Linked DNA regions of Homo sapiens: region 1 is linked to region 2. Evidence: promoter capture Hi-C in 16 types of primary human blood cells and fetal thymus (Javierre and others, 2016). All regions are on one chromosome and are shown on one strand. The core of a region is centred on a gene start or on the middle of the fragment in contact, and the rest is flanking DNA. Distances in the headings are between cores, read along the strand shown.

The links. Contacts are between HindIII fragments. The CHiCAGO score rates a contact against its expected background, and 5 or more counts as called.
Region 1: a contact is called between a fragment that was not itself captured here and the fragment with the promoter of ZNF521 in region 2, in 1 of 17 cell types (megakaryocytes). The highest score is 5.1, in megakaryocytes.

The regions. Positions count from the first base shown.
Region 1 is chr18:25,095,455-25,102,108 of GRCh38, reverse strand. The region is part of intron 5 of ZNF521 (zinc finger protein 521); the gene reads left to right. Among named protein-coding and RNA genes, the nearest start is that of LINC01894, 110 kb to the right of the region's middle. The HindIII fragment of the contact is 4,297 bases long and covers 31-4,327 here.
Region 2 is chr18:25,350,216-25,356,565 of GRCh38, reverse strand. It overlaps ZNF521 (zinc finger protein 521), which reads left to right and starts at 4,400. Exons shown (of 8, transcript NM_015461.3): 1 at 4,400-4,561; 2 at 5,619-5,659. The coding sequence starts at 5,620. RefSeq lists a silencer at 4,305-4,374. The HindIII fragment of the contact is 3,815 bases long and covers 3,641-6,350 here.

The DNA of each region.
Region 1 (6,654 bases), core at 930-3,429, 250 kb after region 2:
ATCGTCTATTTTTCTTCAAACATAAAAGCTTTATCCAAAATATAGTCTGGAAGAAGACACTACATGGATTCATGTGCTGTACATTTATTTTTCTTTTAAGTGTATCATTGCTGTATTTTCCTTTGCTGATATATTTTGACACCTTATAGTTGTAACCTGCTGTTCTCTTTAATTGCTTATTGTTATTAATTATATAGTGGTAACGTAGTTGGCTGCTTGAGCCACTTGGCTGTAAAGAAATTCATTTATCATTATTGCTGTTGGAGCTACAGAAAATTACCAGCATTCTATCCAGAGATGAATGTTGTTGAGTTCACATCCAGTAAAATTTTGAACATGGGTCAAATCTGTAAGTGTTTTCTCCCTGCTGCTTCCCTTTGCTTCTGCTAGTCTGTGCTTTGAGTACCTACATTTTCTTTCATCTTTTGTTTCAGTCCTTGATTTGCTGCCCTTTCAGTGAAGTTTACATATTGTTCTCAGCACTCCATTCAGTGGCCTGTCCAAAGAATACCTTTTCTTTTCTCCTCATATTCCTGACTATAAATTTTCCTTCCTAGAATTTATTTATAGTAAGATTCCTGCCTTTACAACTTTGTTACATGCACATTTCATTTTAAATCATTAATGCTGACTGGAGATTGCCTTAAGCCATGCCTTTCTGTGAAAGGGGTCATCATGCCCTTAAAAACATCTACAAACCCCTTCTCCTCATTCTGTAAATGATCAGCTGTACAGCTGTCCGTTGGGATATGCAGGGGATTGATTCTAGGATACCCACTTCCATGCATGCACAAGTCCCTCAGTATATGTGGAACCCCTATATGCAGGTTTCACATCCCGTGAGTACTATATTTTCAGTCCACATTTGGTTGAAAAAAATCTGCAGGTAAGTGGACCCACACAGTTCTAACCATGTTGTTCTAGGGCCAACTGTATTTAGATTCCTAAATTGGAAAACTGCCAGCATACTGAATGACTGAATGAAAGAATGAATGATGTACACATGCAAACATGGGGGCGTTTATTTACACACATCCAGCTATTTACTGATATCTGTAGTTTCTTTAAAATCTGGGTTTAATTTAGAATACATGACCCCACAGCTGCATGTGCCACAGAACAGCCAGGCCAGAATGCTCCTCTGCCTTCTGGCAGCATGACATTAAATTCACACTAGTTAAGCCAACTTAAATTGAGCCTCCTTGAACCTTCCTAAATAAAACTAGTGGCCTTAATTACAATCAGGCAATTTAAAGGTTATGGAGCTCTAACTAGTACTGCAGTATATCACTTTAATAATGCACAGGCAAATTTCTCTAAGGGGTGGCATCGTTTGATTAGAAGAATTCAAGTTTCACAGCACATTTCCAATAAACTGTTTTTAGAAATCTTATTGCGTTTATTGTGCCATTACCTTTTTTTTTTTTAATTCTTCAAGGCCAAGTTTCTAAGGTCACACCAATAGAACAATAAAAATGTGACTCATTTGCAAATAGCATGCAGTATTGTGATTTTTGCATTGCTGCTTAATGGTTTTCTTACCATTGCCACAAAGTGAAAGGAGCAGGATTGAGCCCCTTGGAAATTAGAGAGATTTTGGCCCCCTTAACACCCCCATGTGCCATTGCAGATATGACGTGTGCTTTTGTGGTGAACTGTGATTCTATTAATAAACAGAATCAGAAGGAGAGAAGATGTCATCTTTGCAATAAGTAATCAATAATATAGTTTCTTAGAAAGAAAATTAGCTTTGAAAATGCTTGACTTAGTTTCTCATCTAAACCTGTGAGCACTTAAAACCCATGGTTGTCAAGGACCATAACATTTGCAGAAGCTGTTGAACCTCACTCAATTTCTTGTGTTTGTTTGATTTGCTTTTGTTGTTTAAAAAATCATCAGCAGTAGCAAGCCGTGCTTTCTAGCAAGGATAAACAGCTTTTCAGTGTTTGGAGACTTTCTCCTTCAGATAACTAGTGGCTTTATGCCAAGAAGAAGAAGATTAAAAAAAAAAAAAAAGAAAGAAAGAAAAAAAGAAAAGGCCCTGACCCTTGCCATAAACTCAGCACAGCAACAGGAAAACATGCCTGATGAGTGCCGTGTCCAGCACATGGCTTGTGTTGCGGGCCCCCCACTGTGTGGAATTAATATTGACTCTTGCACTGTCTCAGTTCTCAAAGATGTTTTCCCAATAGATTTAACTTTAAAGCAGGTTACATTTAGTTTATGCTGCATGAACTATCCTCTTTCGATCTTACCAATTTGTGGGGGTTTTGTACAGTACTCAAAGGTAAATATACCTGTACTTCCACTACTGCCGGAAGTCCCAGATGTAAGGGCATTAATAGAAGGTATTTGATATCAAACAAGAGAAATTTTAAACAAAGAGTATAATAAATGCATATACATCTGGTTTAGCCAATTAATTAAAAGAATGGAGCTTTGTAACATGAGAATACAGACAATTAATAAAAATTGTTTATTGGTCATGGATGTACGGTATAGAGACTTCTCTATGACTTGGGACAAATAAAAGGTAATTATCCCTTCTTTGATATGGCACTTTTTGGTATTTCAGATATAAGATACATAATAATATTTTTCTTCTGGAAATAAGGGATAAGTTTTGGCTTATCAGTTTCTTGCCAGGGATAAGTTGGCAAATTAGACAGCTACTTTGTTAATGCTTTATTTGCCAGAGTATTTTCATCTTATTTTGGGAAATAAAGAAGCCAAGCACTGTAAGGTGGATTTTGCCAGTCCGCTATGTTATATGCACAGGGTTTAATGCACAAGGGAACGGAGCAAAATTTTGAAACCCAACTGACAAACAATAGATATTGTTTTACCATCAGTCTTGGCATTTTATTCTGATGAAATTAAATATAGGGTTTGCTAAGTAGTTATTTCCCATGAATTCAATAAATATTTATTGAGTTCCAGCTATGAGCCATGTACTGTTCTAGGTACTTCGTGTACATCAATGAGCAAAACAGACAAATACCCTTGCCCTCCTGGAACTTGCACTGTAGCAAGAATAGGTGAATAACCCCAAACTGAGTTCTCAACACTCTTATGGCATTGAGATGGTCAGAGCTGCCACACACCACTCTTTGTAGGCAAGGCAAAAACTGAAATGCGTTGCTGAATTGGAAACACTGCTGTCTTCAATCATTCCATTCATCTAGTCTGTTATGTGAAATGGAAACAAATGTTTTATACTTGTATTTGCGTGCTCACAAACTTTCTTTCAAGTCAGAGAACAGAACAGCACTAAAGATTAGGTGACAAAAATTTTTTGAAAGAAAAAATGTACTCTCCTGTATTCAAGTGGGTATAAATGAGGGGGAGAATTGACTGTTCAAGTAAACTGGATCCTTTTCAGTGCAACACAGTGGCACTGTGTTAACAACATCCAAGTTGTTTAAAAGCAACTCCAATATCTAATCAAACCTGGAGGACATACATCAGACTTAGTTGGTCTCAGTCCTCACTCCCGTCCTTATCCCTGCCCTTGCCTTTTCCAGAATATTTGCTAAGAAATATCCACTACTTTCTTCTTTTCTTGGCTAACAATTTTTTTCTTGGGATGGGGAGAGGAAGAATCAAAGTGATTTTATCAGTGCCCTTCCAAAACTGGTGTTTGCAGTTTTTTTTTAATAAAAAAAAAATGAGGGCAAAGTTTTACCTTTAAAGCTATTTGTAGGCACCATGTTTTCTCTGAGACTTCAACCATGGGGTCCATGTTTAGATTCAGAATGTGAAGAAGAAAAGAAGGAACTAGAGGAGCTAATGTACTGGCCAGGTTTGAAAAACATTGTAGTCTGTGTGCTTATCCCCATTCCCTACTTGTGCCAAAATACCACTGCTGAGTCCCCTCAGTTGAAGGAAAGCCACCTTTTTGGTGGGCTGTTTGTTTTACTGTTTATTGTTTGAACAACATTCCAATGTTTTCTCCTACATGAGAATATTCTAATAAGTACTTCACACAACCTATAATAATAGCCAAGGAATTGGACGATATTGCATCTCAGAGCATCTAAAATCCCACTGCCTGCCTCTCCTCTCCCTACCCACCTGGACCTCCTGCTAGTTTCCAAGCTGCTGATGTTTATGGGGCTCTAGGCAGCCCCCGGGCTCTTTAAAATCTGCTGGGTACCATGCAGCCTACCCCAGTTGAATCATTTCCTGCTCCAGCCCTGCTGATAATGAGAAGTTCAAGGCAGGAAATAACAGTGGCAATATCAGTGGCTTTGCTTATAAAGTCCAAAAGCATTGTAGCCTTTAGACCATTGGCTAAAAACAGCCAGTAACTAAGTTAAGGTAAGCTTGCACCTGTAGATCTCCTGGAAGTGAGATTCTGACTGAGGCACACAGGATGTGTATCCTGCGGCTCTTGAGATACCTAAGGGTTAGGCACTTTGTGCACACAGTCAGGGTCCAGGAACCTGGAGCTCATTTCCTCATGTCCCAGTGTCCTTTTCCTCTTATTGTAAGAGTCTCATGCCTGTGTCTTCTGTTCCTCTCTCATGTGGCGTAGAAATACTGACAGTGCCAGACACTCCCATATTGCCAGTGACAAAACTCCTAGAAGGTGCTAGCGTCGGTCTTCAGGCTGCATTCATTTTCATGGCAACTCGTTCAAAAAAAATAAGGGCAGAACTTTTTAACTGGTATGAGAAAAAACGTTCCCACAATATGCAATTCTCTCAAATTCTGCCTTACTTTGGGGGCTTAATGACTAATCTACCGGCAGACTTTGAAGCCTAAGTCATATTCTCCATTGCCAAATTAGCACCACAGTGTGTTTATGTTACAGTCATGAAACATGTGCTGTATATAATACAACAAATTATCGTGGCTGAGTGCTATGGCCCTGGAAAGAATGTGATGGCTGTGTGCATGGCAAATTATACTGCAGTCTGCCTATTTTTCTACTCCTGGTTTCTAGGGCGAGCCAATGTAGCCGAGGGGTGAGTTTTGTCATGTATGGCTTTTCTTTGTTACTCCTCGGACCCCTAGCTTATAAATGTGTGCTTGGAAATTAACTCAAGGAAGAGGAGAAGCAAAGTAAAGGGTGGGAGGTTGGGAATTGGGTTAGGGCATAGTTTTCTTAGATTTAAAAATATATATGAGGATACAGTGGTAACACACATTCGAACTGGATAAGTTACAACTGTAGGGCATTTGATTCCTCTGTTTGGATTCTGAGGGCAGAGTTTACTCCCACTCAGATCAGAGCTTTTAAGTATGGCCCCGGCCACATGGTGATATAGCAGGAGGGGTTTCTATCTGTGGACTTTAGCCTATAGATTTATGCAGTGGAAGAGGCTGGAGGACCCTTCTGGCCAGTCTTGAGGGTAAAAGGGAGAAGGAGTTCTACTTATAAACTGTTACAAATTGGCCCTCAGTAATGGCTGTAGCGTTGATCAGACGATATAAGGGGGCCCCCAGTGATTCCTGGGATAACAGCAGCATGTAAGTCAGCCACTGAACATTTGCTTGTAGCCACTCTAGATTTTTGTTTTTATTGAAGGAAAAGGAGTATAAACATGGGACACACAGTCTGGAGGCTGCTTAAAGGGTTTCTCTTGTTTAAAGCTTATATTGAAATGTCAGTGTCTTGTGTTAAACTACCAATTGCCACCTTGGAGCTCATAATTTAAACCTGTGCTTGAGCATCCAAATGGTAACTAATATTTCTCCTGTTATAAAACAGGCTAATAAATAGTTATGTAGGTCCAGGTTTTATAAATTGGAGGTATAGAAGTTGTCATTCATCTTTGAACTGGCTTTAGACAAGCAGATGGTTTTCTTAGAGCACAAAATTTTGTAAGTGATTAGCACGTTTCCTACTAAGTCAGTGAGGTTGTAGTCCAATTATGTATGCAGACGCTTTCCTTTGAAACATTTAATATTGGAGTAAATATTTACATTAGCATCAGTCTCTTTTATGTAGACTTGATTCCTGTTTACATTTATGTTCACAGTTAAATGAAGATTAACAAATGGAAATAATTATTTTAGATGAAATTTCTATACATGTGAAATGATTTCTTAATTATACTCAAAGCAGCTTTGGTCATGCCTTTCCAGTGGGTGACCAAGACAGGAAGTTGCTGGCTTCCAGCATGGTCTCAATGGTAAAGGCCCCACTCTGACACTGGACCCCCATTGCTAGGCACATATACCTCCCTCAGTATCCAACAGAGAGGGGTATTCTGTGTGTTCTGGAAAGATACAGGCTCATACAGAAAGCTCCATGTTTGCTCATATAGCTAAATTGCATTCTGATAGTTCTTTCTCCCTTTCCTTGTGCTAATTTTTGTTTTTGTACATACGTGGCTAGAATACTTTTAAGTTTAATTGGGCAAAACTAGAGTTTTTCTAGACTTCATAATATTGCTCATTTCCTATCTAATTTTTTAGCTAGCAAAATTTCAGTGTTGTAATCAGTCTTCATTAATAGGGTTTAGAAAAGGTAGGTTTTTCCCTCTCTCTTTCAATTTCAAAGTACCCTACAAGGCAAATTGTGCTCATTGTAGAAAATCTGGAGAATATAGATAAGCAAAAAGGAGAAGAAAAATCTAGAAGTTTCGTTCGAAGATCCCATCTATAATTCTTAATTAAAAAATAGGGCTGTACTAGCCTATTATA
Region 2 (6,350 bases), core at 3,151-5,650:
AGGATATTTTCTCTCTTTTATTGTTTTAGTGGCTCAATAAGGACCTTTGCAGTGGTTATGAAAGCCTCAGTAAGAAAAGATGACAATGTGAAACCTCTAGTTTTAAACGTTTCTATACATGTTGAAATTAAATCTTTAAATTTCAATGAATTCGTGTATTATAAAATAAATGAATAATGTATAGTGTGCATTTAAAAAACTTTACCTTTTTGGATATAGTCCACCACCAAGTAGAAAAGTCCTCAACGCATCTGTATCAGAATTTTTTTTAAAGGGGTTTAATGACTCAGATTTTATGAAAGAAAAGAAGTCAAGTAAATAAGACTAAAAAAAGATTGAAAATAGAATTTGTTATTCATAATGACAAAATACATTTGCCATATTTATATATTTAATGTGGATTTTTCCATGTGACGTTCTTAAATGCTTTTGCATTCAAACATTGCTACCCATTTCATAGATTAAGAGGTAGAGTGTGGTTATGAGTATGCAGGATGGATATTAAGTAACTTACTGAGAATTAGATGGTGGACAATTAAAGGAACTGGGAACTGAGTATAGTTTTTGTGGACTAAAAATATTGCCTTTCCAAATGCATCACTAATACTTTGCACAAATGTTAATTTAAAAGTCCCTTATATGTTGTTCTAACAATAATGTGTTAATATGTATATACGTGGATGTATATACATATATAACACACACATATATTTTATATTTTAAACACACAGACACAGACACACACATTAGATTCAGATGGACTTTGATTAAACTGCCCTTTCATAGGACTTTTAATTTAACTCTTGTTAAAAATGCTCCTCCTTTAAAAGAAAGCTTCTGTGGAGTAATATGACTGATACAGTCATATTACTCAGGCAGGTAATACACTAGATTTGAACTAACTTTCAATATTAAAAAAAATCCGAAATCGGTCTTGAAAATCTTAAAATATTACATGAAATTGTTGTACAGATAAGTAGACATGTGCTAAGGATATTTATATAAAATTATGAGCAGAGTATTCTCTTTGTAATTGGTTTAGATGCCAGATTGCAACTTTGACACTATTACTTATAACTTATCAAAGACAATTTATGCTTTGCAACTGACATTTTAAAATTGGAGATTTACTTGAACTGGTACCTAATGTGTTTTCTGTAATTAATTCCTTTGAGGTCAAGTTTCATGGACACAGGTTTCCTTTAACATTAATCCCTCCTTTAGCAATATCTTTATTGTTGGAATTAACAGTTGAAAAAACGTTAATCTTTTTTTCAAGTAAGAGTCTCAGTTCCAGATATTGTTTGTTTCACCAATGCAAGACATTCTGAAAAGTGCAAAATATCTTAAAAGTAGGTGCTGTGGAGTCAATGCATGAAAAGAGCCAGAAGTTAAATCAATCATATGTTAATACGAAATGGAAAGTTTAATTATGTAGCTACTTAAGTTCTTAATAGAACTCGGTAATGAAGGGTCTGTCTCATTTTAAACTTTATACTACTATTCAGGTTATTTGTAAATAATACCTAAAATTTATAAGCTTTATATGTTTTTGCTGGTTATTCAGGAGATGTTAAATAGGTTATTTGGAGGACAGCACAATTTGTTGGATGATGATGTTCAAAAAACTGTTGAATGAAAATGAATGACGTTCTCATTGTAGCTGGTTTCCAGTTTTAAGAATGAGAATAATACATTTAAAAGTTGGGGGATAAATAACTGAATATATAGTAGTTTACTATTCCCAAAATGAATTTTGTTAAGCATGAAAAAATGTTTATCAGTTAGGCATGTTTACCTTTCTGCAGTGGCTAATTATGCTTTTTCGCATCGTCCAAAGAAAGACAAATCTTAGTTTTCCTTCTTTAGCATCTGTGTAGCCTCTATCAGGTGAATTGGACAGTTTACATTTTTGGTGTCTGTTTATATACGAAGCATGGAAAGTAATTGCGAGGCTACTCAGCAGTGTTTAATGAAATCCAAGTGCTCACCAATTCCACATAATTGATTAATTCACATGGAATACGGTGGTAAGGGATGCTGAAATCAGTGGGAGTTTTGCCTACCAGATCTGTCCCTCCAAAAGGTAGAATGGGTGATGTTTTATCTTGGACTTCAAGACCCCTTAATGAGACCTAAGAAAATATTTGTCTTGTCTTTAGTAAAATTCCTTGCACATGGTTCTTTATGCATTATTACCCCATCATCAACAACAGCATCCAAATATTCACAAAGTTGCTGCATTCTGCTCAGAGATGATGGCTTTGGCTTCATGGGTGGATGTTGGGGTTTATGTTTAGAAACATAATCAATGATCTTCCCCCCCTTGGTAACTTGGGGGGAGGAAATTAAAGTATTTAAAGATACGTTTCAAAAGCATTTTACCTATCTGTATAGGTCAATATTTGACAGATTTAGGTTAAAATAGTTTTTATGTTTGTCTTTTGGGTGGTTGGTGCTTTAACCTCCCTTAAAATGCTATGCAGTACTATCCCAAACTGAAATATCAGGCTCTTGAGCCAGATCTAAATCTCTGAGCTAAGGGTTTTATTTATCTCTTAATAGAGGAAGGCAACAGAAATACTAACATTGGGAAATGAAAGAACAATTTTAGAGTAAAGCAAAGTAGACTACTTTGAGAAAGAAACAAAAAAAATCAACCCATATAGAAAACTTTAACAAATTAGGGTACGCGTTAGTATTACGTTAGCAATTTTTCACTTTCCAATAAAACCAGGATTAGATGCCATCAATATTTTAGATAATATCACACATAACTTGGGACCACACATACATGGCACCATAGTATTCTGCACACATATGGCTACCACACGAAAGGAAAGTCTTGTAAAAACTTGGTGTTTACACATTTTTCCCTTTCTGAATGATTTCTGTGAAAATGAATGTATAAGGTTATGTATAAAATCTAGAATCCTTAATGTACCAACACAGATTCTGCAACAAAAGTTGCTTTATTTCACAGTCATGCAAAGTTAAATTTGACTACAACTATGATTTCACTTTAGGAATTACTGCAGATGGATTGAAAACTCATTTAATTATAATGAAGATATTGAAAAAAAACATACTGTATTTGCAGCTATCCACATGAGGGTCCAGGCAGTTTACAGGTTAGACTGGAAAAAATACAACTTCCTTAAAGCTTTGATGTCTTTGCATGGTGGCTTAATAGATAGCTGTACCTTAATTTTACAGAACGGAGAATTTTTAAAATCTGATTAAGAACAATAGTATTTGTACAAAATTCTGCCTGTTTTGTGTAATTAACCGTATTCTGAATCTCTTAATTTCCACCAAGACTTGTGAATCTAAGCTCTACTTGGTAGCCCTCTCAGGCATTTATAACTTGACAAGCGTGTCCAATCAATAAATAGCAACAACAATAATAATACTAAAACATCCTTTCCCTTAAGATAAGGTAAAAGAAGGAAACAGGTGATGGTTTCTTGTTTTGCGATGGGAGCAGGTGAAAAGTTAGAAAACAAAACTGCGAAAAGAAACAAAAATTCCCACCGACCTGCAGACATTTCAATTTATTTTAGAAACTATTTTCTTGTACACATATTCTTAAGTGCATATTTCCTTACCTCTTGCTTAAAGAAAAAATCAACAGAAAGCTTTATTTTCTGGACAAAGATCTATGTCAATTTGAGAATGTTAAAAAAGTGAACTCAAAGCTGTCTCTTTTGAATCACATTATGACATTCGTCAGCATCAATGACTTTCTCTAAACGAGAAAATAAAAAAAAAGTCCAAATAACTTGCCTTTATAAAGATTCCAAGTAAGAGAGACTTGGCAGGTCTGCGGTTGCCATAAAAAAGATTTCCCGAGTCCGGGCAACAACAGCAGACACACTTTTTTAAAGTCCGACAATGCAAAAGCCAAGCAATGAATTTCCCCCCTCCTTTCTTTTTCTTTTTCTTTTTCTTTTTTTTTTTTTTTTTTTTTGCCCCCTCAAGAACAAATTGTTGCCTCCTTTTACATCCATCCTACCAGAAGGGGGACCTTTCCACTTTCAGATGCTCCTCTGCTTTAATTTCTGAAGAGGAAAAAAAGCGAGCAGAAGAGCCCCGAGATCCGCCGTGGAGCTCTAATAACGCAGCTGCGGCGGCGGCGACGGCGGCGGCGCGGGGTGTGCGAGCGGCCGGGCGGGCGGCGCGAGGGGCGGCGGCGCAGGAGCGGGCGGGGCGCGCGGCGCGTGGGAGGCGGCGGCGGCGGCGGCGGCGGCGGGCGGGGCTCGGGGCGCTCGGCCGCCGCCTGGCTCCGGATCCGCGCGCCGCGGCCGGCGCCTCCAGTCCGGGTCTTGGCGGGCCCCCTCCTCCCTCCCGCTCCCCGCGCTCTCGCCTTTTAATCATGCCCCTCTGTCTGTGTGTGAGTGCAGGCAGGCTGACAATGATTTCCTCAGTGATTACGTACAGAGCGAGTCCCTGCGGGTTAGGGGCCCCCTCTGGAGCCATCCTGATGGCTTTGGGGGCCTTGCTTCCATTTTCCATTATTATGTGGACTACCGGAGCGACAGCGCAGTCCAAGACCTTGCAGGTTTGTGATGAGGAGGGAGCACACAGCACACTCCTTCTCCTCCTCCTGCTCCCGGCTCTCCTCCTCCTCCTCCTCCTGCTCTCGCCGCCGCTGCCGCCGCCGCTGCCGCCGCTGCTGCCGCCGCCGCTGCCGAGGCAGCCGTAGACTTTAGAGCCCCGGTCCAGCGCCAGCCGCCGGCGCCGCGCCCCCGCCCAGAGAGGGGCGCCCCGAGCCCGGGCCCCGCACACCCCCTGCACACAAGCAGCCCCGCACACCACCTGGGGGCCGTCGGCTCGGGTGCTTTGGCTTTTTCTTTTTGAAAGAAATTACTTTAGTGTGGGTTAAGAAAAAAAGGGTGGGGGGAAGGGAGAAAAAAAGTATTTTTTTCCCTTTGCTTATTTTCGTGGCCCGTTCGCATCTGCCTCGGATGGTGGGAGATTTTTCTTTCCAAGACCTTTTCATCGCCTTGCAGGGTCGATTTCCCCCCCTCGTCCCCCCAACTACAAAAGAGCACGACTCGCTTTGTAAACAAATCAGTGTTATTTGTTTTTTTCCGGTGGGGGGGGGGGCGGATTTGTTGAAAAGGAAAAGCGGTAAAGAAAAAAAAAATCACCCAGACGCTTTTCTTTTTATTAGTTTTTTTCTATTCGCATGAACTATGTGAATTTTGATTGAGGTGGAAATAGTAACGGATTTTCTCTTTTTAGTGTAGCTGACGGCTCTTCAAACATTGTCTTTGGGGTTTTTTTTTTAGCTTTTTTTCCCTCCTTTCCTTTTTTCTTTTTCCTTTTTTTTTTTTTTTCTTGGAGATTGGGGGTGGGGGTCGAAGGCTGGGAAAGTTTGGTGCAGCAGCCGCCGCCGCCGCCGCCGCCGTCGTGCAGAGCGCGGAGCTCGGGCAGCCGCGAGCCCCGCGCGCGAGCGCGAGCCGGAGCCGGAGCGAGGAGCGGAGCGCGGAGCGAGGGCGCGAGGGAGGCCGAGCGGAGGGCGCGAGGCGCCGCGGCCCGAGGGGCGCGCGGCCACGAGGAAGTATAGTTTCTTTCAGGGCTGAATTGAAACAACTTCAGCTGTTTGCTTTTAGGATGTCTCGCCGCAAGCAAGCGAAACCGAGATCCCTCAAAGGTAAGGAGGAACCCCCTGCTCCCCGCTTTCCCCCATCCGCGAGTGTCACTGTGGGTAGCGGAGCGAGGGCTGCGTGGCTGCGAGGCGTGTGCGCGCGTGAGTGTGAGTGTGAGTGCGGGGGCGCGCGCGCTCCCCTCCCCGCTGAGCCCCTAGGTGGAGTGAGGGTGAGGTGTCGGGGTGGGGGGAGACGAAGACGGGAGGAGGATCCCCGAATGGGGCGGCGGTAGAAAGTGGGCGAGAAAAGACAACAACAACCGAAAAAAAAAAAGAGAGAGAGAGAGAAAGAAACGAAATTATCCGGAGAGGGAGGAAAAAAAAATATCCCGTCTGAGATCTACATCTGGGCTGGAGGAAAAAGTTTCTGTTGTGTGTTTTCGCAAAGAATAAATATGCAAAACCGTGCGGTGCTTCTTTTTTCCTTTTCTTTGGAAGAAGAAAAAAGTCATCTCGGAGGTGGGGAGCAGCCCCCGCTCGTGACAAACGTGGCCCGGGGTCCCGGCCGCCGCCTCCCGCCCGCCCGCGTCCTGCTTGGGTCCTCTCCGCACGTCGCCGGAGTAAACAGACCCCGGCCGCCGGCCGCGGGCACCGGACCCCGGCTCGGGCCTCAGAGCACCCCTCTTGGCCATTCCCAGAAGTTGACCGCCCCTCGCCCCTACTTCTCCCCGCCGCCCCTGGAGTCCTTTGCGTTTCG